2 separate regions of the Homo sapiens genome follow, and region 2 is linked to region 1. The links are contacts of gene promoters, found by promoter capture Hi-C in blood cells and fetal thymus (Javierre and others, 2016). All regions are on one chromosome and are shown on one strand. Each heading gives the region's core, a stretch centred on a gene start or on the middle of the fragment in contact. The rest is flanking DNA. Distances are from core to core; before and after follow the strand shown. Region 1 holds the start of PDILT (protein disulfide isomerase like, testis expressed). Region 2 has its middle 27 kb from the start of GPRC5B.

Region 1 (3,258 bases), core at 668-3,167:
CCAGTTACTCAGGAGGCTGAGGCAGGAGAATTACTTGAACTCAGGAGGCGGAGGTTGCAGTGAGCCAAGATTGCACCACTGCACCCCAGCCTGGGCAAGAGAGCAAGACTCTGTCAAAAAAAAAAAAAGCAGCAGCAGCTTTATCAGTAAATGAGTATCATCATAAAAGTGCCTATGTTATGTCAAGAAACAACTGTGTGCAAGAGTGAAGGAAAATGAATGAAGGACATTTGGGATAATAACCCAAGTGTTTTAGTTTGTGACTAACAGTTGACAAGTGTGAAAGATGTCAAAATAATATATGCCAGACTAGATTGTTGATTTAGGCCTGGGAGAAAAAAGAGTCAAACACATCCCAGGAATTATTTGCAAACACAACATCCAGAAAAGGAATAATTGCCAAGAAAAGTTGAAAGGGACATGATGAGTTCAAATTAAGACATTCAGATATTCAGTGAGTGTGGTTCAACCAAAAAGAGCTTTTCTAATAGGCAGATGGAAAACGGTCTTAATAGTAAATGTAATCAATTGATCAAATCCTGGAGAGTAAATGAGAGAGTAACTTATAAAGGGGTGTATTTGAAGTCATGCATTTAAACAAGCCAACAAAAGTATGGAAGTTAAGTATGGAAAGAGAAGAGTGGGGCCGCATGCCGTGGCTCACGCCTGTAATCCCAGCACTTTGGGAGGCCGAGGCAGGCAGATCATTTGAGGTCAGGAGTTTGAGACCGACCTGGCCAATGTGGTGAAACCCCGTCTCTACTAAAAATACAAAAATTAGCCAGACGTGGTGGTGCATGCCTGTAGTCCCAGCTACTCAGGAGGCTGAGGCAGGAGAACCGCTTGAACCCTGGAGGTGAAGGCTACAGTGAGTGGAGATCGCGCCACTACACTGTCTCAAAGAAAAAGAAAAGAAAGAGAAGAGCAAAGCGCTAGGACTAAAACCCACAGATGTTAAAATTTAGTGAAATGAATGTTAGTCATCTCCATCAGTATTTAATAACAGTTGGGCAGCAGATAGCCAAAGGCTGCAAACTCTGACAGTAATAACGATGCTAATAATATCAACAGCCTTTTCTTTATTCATTCAACAAATATTTACTGAGCACCTATCACCAGGTAAGCAAAGTAAATTATGTGGAGTTTAGAAGAAAATTAATGCTATGAAGGAAAATAAAGCCTGGAAGGAGGATGAGGAACGCCTGAGAGGGGGATGGGGCACTTACAAATTTAAACAAAGTGGCCAGGAAAGGCCCAACTGTGGAAGTGACATTTGGGCAAAGACTGGAACGAGCTAAGGGGTGAACCCTGAGTCCACCTGGGTGAAGAGCCTCCCTAACAGGGGAAACCACAAGTGTAGAGGCCCAGACATTGTATTGGAGGACTGGCAGGGACACCAGTGTGGCTGGAGCAGGGTGAGTGGAGATCTTTCTCCCCTAGGAGATGAGGCCAGGGTGGTGATGCGTGAGGGGCTCCTGCCTTCTAGGTACTGAGCTGCTCGTTTTGCATAAATCCTCTTATTTTATCCCATCCCCCTCTCAGGCGTTCCTCATCATCCTTCCAGGTTTTATTTTTCTTCATATCATTAATTATCTTCTAAATTCCACATAATTTACTTTGCTTACAACACCCCCATGAGTTAGATGCCATGTAACAGGCATGGAAACTGAACCTCAGAAAGAGTAAGTGACATTCTCAAGGCCATACAGCTGTTCAAGACAGAGCTGGGATTCAAATTCCAATCTATAGGCACTGAGTTCAGAGCCCTCCTGGGCCATACCCAGCACCCCACACTGAGTTTTGTTTCTAGCCCCTCAAGCAAACTCAGCAAGGGCTGCCAGGCAGGGCCCCCTCTTACTCAACAATGGCCCATTCTTCTACAGGGTCACCCCTGGTCCTCTAGAACCCCAGAACTCAGAACTTTGCTGCTGAGGCTGCTGTGGCCTCTGTGTGCCCAGGAAGGGACTTCATTTCTGCCTGTGGATTCTTTAGAATGCCCAGTCGTCTGCGGGTCCTGCCCTGATCACAAGGAGAAGCCAGGAGCCTCCTCTTCAGGCTACAACCTTCCTTCTTAAGGGCCACAGAGTTTGTGGCCCCACCCCCAGCACAGCCCCACCTTGGCCCCAGGAACCCTGGGAGTGGCCTTGGCTTCCTGCAGGTATGAGCTTCAGTGAAAATGGGAAATCTGACTGATGGGCCCTGCCTTGGGAGGCTTTTCTCTACCAGGAGTCACCAGTTTAAGTTTTAAGTGTCAGTTTTGGTGTATAGATGGCTACACATTAGGATCAACTTGAGGATTTTAAAAAATAATAATAATGCCCAGACTCACCCAACCCCAGATCAATTAAATTAGAACCTACTGGGTTTGGGTTTGAACATCAGTATTTTTTATTAAACTCTCCAAGAGATTCTCAGCATAGTCATGGTTGAGAACCACTGAAATGAACCAATGGGGTTTGCTGTAAGAGTTAAATTAGGCCATTCATTCATTCATTCAACAAACATTCATTGAGTTCCAAATCTGGTACAGGCACTGTTCTGAAGGGGAGAAAACAGCTGTGAACAATGGTATTTACATTAAAAAGTTCAAAATGACAACAACAACAAAGTACACTCATAAATAATAATACAAAATATGATGCAAACAATGGTGATATGGCAGAGAGTGCTGAAAGCTGAGATGGGGTGAGACAGAGTGGCCCGGGAAGACCCTTCTGATGAGCGTGGATTCGAGCTAGGACCCAGAGAACCAGAAAAGGCTGACGATGTGAGGGAAGGGTGCCCCAGACAGAGGCAAAGGCCCCGGGTAGGGTGTGCTTGGGAAAGGGAAGAGGCCAGTGTGGCTCCCCAGAGTGCGGGAGGAGAGAGAGAGAGGAGGGCGATAAGGTCAGATGGGTCCAGAGCCAGTGGGGCCTGGTAGACCACAGAGAACAGTTTGGCTGGTGTGCGGTTTTGCGAATGGATTGTAAAAAAAAAAGAGGCAGAAGCTTTTTTTTGCACAAAAGTGAGCACCTTTTGATAGGCACAGTGGTGTGATGGAATTCCTGTGTCGAAAGGAAATCTCTGCTGGGCACGGTGGCTCACGCCTGCAATCTCAGCACTTTGGGAGGCCCAGGCAGGTGGATCACCTGAGGTCAGGAGTTTGAGACCAGCCTGGCCAACATGGTGAAATCCCGTTTCTACTAAAAATACAAAAATTAGCCGGGCATGGTGGCGGGTGCCTGTAGTCCCAGCTGCTAGGGAGGTTGAAGCAGGAGA
Region 2 (2,865 bases), core at 53-2,552, 490 kb after region 1:
TCCCAGTGAGTGTTGTGTATATTTTTGGGCTGTGTTCCTCTCATAAATAAATAAATGTGTAGGTAAATACTAATAAGAGCTAGCATTTATTAAGCACTTGGCGTGGTGCCAGGGATGGTGCTGAGGGGTTTGCCTGTTATTTTATTTCACCATCATGATGACCTAATGAAACTGGCACCATAATGATCCGCATTTTACAGGAAAGGAAACTGACACTCAGAGGGATGAGGTCATTTGTCATTTCCCCCAAAAAAGGGGCAGAACAGGGATTTGACCTCAAGTCTGTCTGATCCAAAGCCCCGATTACTGAGTTCTGAGCAGCTCGTGTGGACATGAACCCAAACTTCATCTCACTTCCTAAGTGCCTTCCTTCCTTCGGTCCCCACTAATTAAGCTTCTGCCGTCGATGCCAAGCCGGACAGGGAAATGCTAAGTGCTCAAACTAAGCTGATGATTTGAAAATGCCAATAGTCCTTCATTTCTGCTGACCACCCTGAGCCTGGGGCCGGCTCACTCCTGAGCCTGGGACCCAGAACAACGTAATGGATGAGCCGCGTGTTGAGCAATGCTTTATGCCATTCAGGAGTGACTCGGGCTGAGCTCATCTCAGTAGTCAGCGTGTTAATTACAACTGCCCAAATGAGGCCCATTCATCCATTAATACCAATGAGCCAGCTCCAGAAGGCAGAGGCAAGATGACTCGCACTCATGAATCTTGCTCATTGTAGATTCGACAACCACCATGGCCTGGCCACCCAGGCTACATCTTCATTGATATCGAATTATTTGTACTTCCCCTGCAAGTCTCTCCAATTTTCACCCCATCCTTTCCCAAAGAAGACCTCAAAGAAGAAGCAAAAGGCAGCATGCCTGGCACAAAAGACGTGGGCTTCAAAGCTTGAGAGACTCGGTCGAATCCTGGCTCTGCCACTGACCAACAGAGTGACCTTAGGCAGGTCATTTCATGTCTCTGGGCCTCAGTTATCCCATCTGTCAAATGGGGCTAATCACTTCCACCCCTCTTTCGTGTTCATACTGGGAGCTAGAAGATGTGATATCTAAATGTTCCAGCTTGCAGCAAGGCTCAGCGCATGTTAGCTGTTGTTACTAATTGTATCATTAGATGGCTTGGATCACTTTCACGTCATTTCCCCCAGCGCACTGGGGTTTATGGGATGGCAGCTACCATGTGGCTGGAGAGTGATTCCCAAATTTCAGTGCACTGGGGATGCTTGTTTAAAACACAAGATCTGAAGCCCCCAGCCATTCTGATTCCAGAGTAGAGCTGAAGACTGCGTGTTTGGTAACCACCTCGGGGTTTAAGGCTTTCAGACAGCCGTTCTCAGCCCTGCCTACACACTGGGATCACGGGGAAGCGGGGAAAGGAAGTGGGGGAGGTGGGGGGGAAGAGGTTTAGTTTTTTTAATGCCTGGATCCTAACTGCAGAAATTCTGATGTTCTGGGGCCCTTGTGTGGCTGGGATATCAGGATTTTTTTCTAAAGTTCCCCCAGATGATTTTAATGTGCAACCAGGGCTGAGACCTACTGCTATCAGCCAGTGTTTCTCAGAGCGTGGTGCAGGGACCCACACATCGGCATCAGGCTCACTGGGAACGTGTCTGAAATGCAGATTCTCCCTCTGTCCTACCTCAACCTGCTGATTCAGAGACTCTGGGGGTGGGACTTAGCACTGATTTATAAAGCTTTCAAAGGGATTCATTTTTTTGGTGTTTTTTTTTTTTTCTTTTTTTTTTGGATACAAGGTCTGGCTCTGTCACCCAGGCTGGAATGCAGTGGTGCAATCACAGCTCACTGCAGCCTCAACCTCCTGGGTTCAAGTGATCCTCCCACCTCAGTCTCCTGAGTAGCTGGGACTACAGGCTCGAACCACCATGGCTGGCTAATTTTGGGTTTTTTTTTTGTAGAGATAGGATCTCCATATGTTGCCCAGGCTGGTCTCAAACTCCTGGGCTCAGGCAATCCCCCCGGCCGGGGCATCCCAAAGTGCTGGGATTACAGGCATCAGCCACCAATGTCAGGCTCCCCTGGTGATTCTGACACACACTTAAGTTTAAGAACCCCTGCTATAAGGCCTGGCATCCCCCAGACTTCATGCTGTTAAGAACCACTTGGGGAAGAGGTTTGTTATTGCTCCCTTTTCCCACCCTTTCTCTTTTGAACACTGTTGTGTCGTGATGTGAAGCTTGGAGCTTTGGCAGCCATCTTACAAACATGAGGTAAAAACCAAGGCTTCACAGAGATAGCACCCCAGTGCCTCGCAGTCACTGAGTCACTGCCCCAACCTCTGACCCTCTACTTCCAAACTTCCCATTAGCTAAATGCCTTGATTGTTTAAGCTCCTATTATTTGAGTCTTCTCTTACTTGCAATGGAACACATTTTTTATTGGTATAAGTATTCCCAACACAGTATGAGTGCATAGAACAACTTTAAAAGATCCCTGCGATAGGCTGGGCATGGTGGCTCATGCTTATAATACTAGCACTTTGGGAGGTCAGGAGGACCTCTTGAGCCTAGGAATTTGAGACCAGCCTGGGTAACACAGTGAGACCCTGTCTCTACAAAAATTAAAACAAAATTAGTTGGGTGTGGTGGCACGTGCTCATAGTCCCAGCTACTCGAGAAGCTGAGGTGGGAGGATTGCTTGGGCCCAGGAGTTCAAGGCTGCAGTGGGCTGTGATCATGCCACTGTACTCCAGCCCGGATGACAGAGCAAGACCCTCTCAAAAAGAAAAAAAGAAAAAAAAATTCCAGGACATAAAATGATGTAATGCCTAAAATTTTACTTTGAATATTCTCAGAAAAAAAAAAACAGACTAAGTGTGAAGAGAGGAGTGGGGTCGAT

What was found. The method cuts DNA at HindIII sites, captures the fragments that hold promoters and counts their contacts. A CHiCAGO score of 5 or more calls a contact.
Region 2: a fragment that was not itself captured here is called in contact with the fragment with the promoter of PDILT in region 1 in 1 of 17 cell types (M2 macrophages); the score reaches 6.9 in M2 macrophages.

The regions. Positions count from the first base shown.
Region 1 is chr16:20,403,396-20,406,653 of GRCh38, reverse strand. It overlaps PDILT (protein disulfide isomerase like, testis expressed), which reads left to right and starts at 1,917. Exons shown (of 12, transcript NM_174924.2): 1 at 1,917-2,158. The HindIII fragment of the contact is 3,157 bases long and covers 1-2,989 here.
Region 2 is chr16:19,910,750-19,913,614 of GRCh38, reverse strand. No RefSeq gene overlaps it. Among named protein-coding and RNA genes, the nearest start is that of GPRC5B, 27 kb to the right of the region's middle. The HindIII fragment of the contact is 806 bases long and covers 900-1,705 here.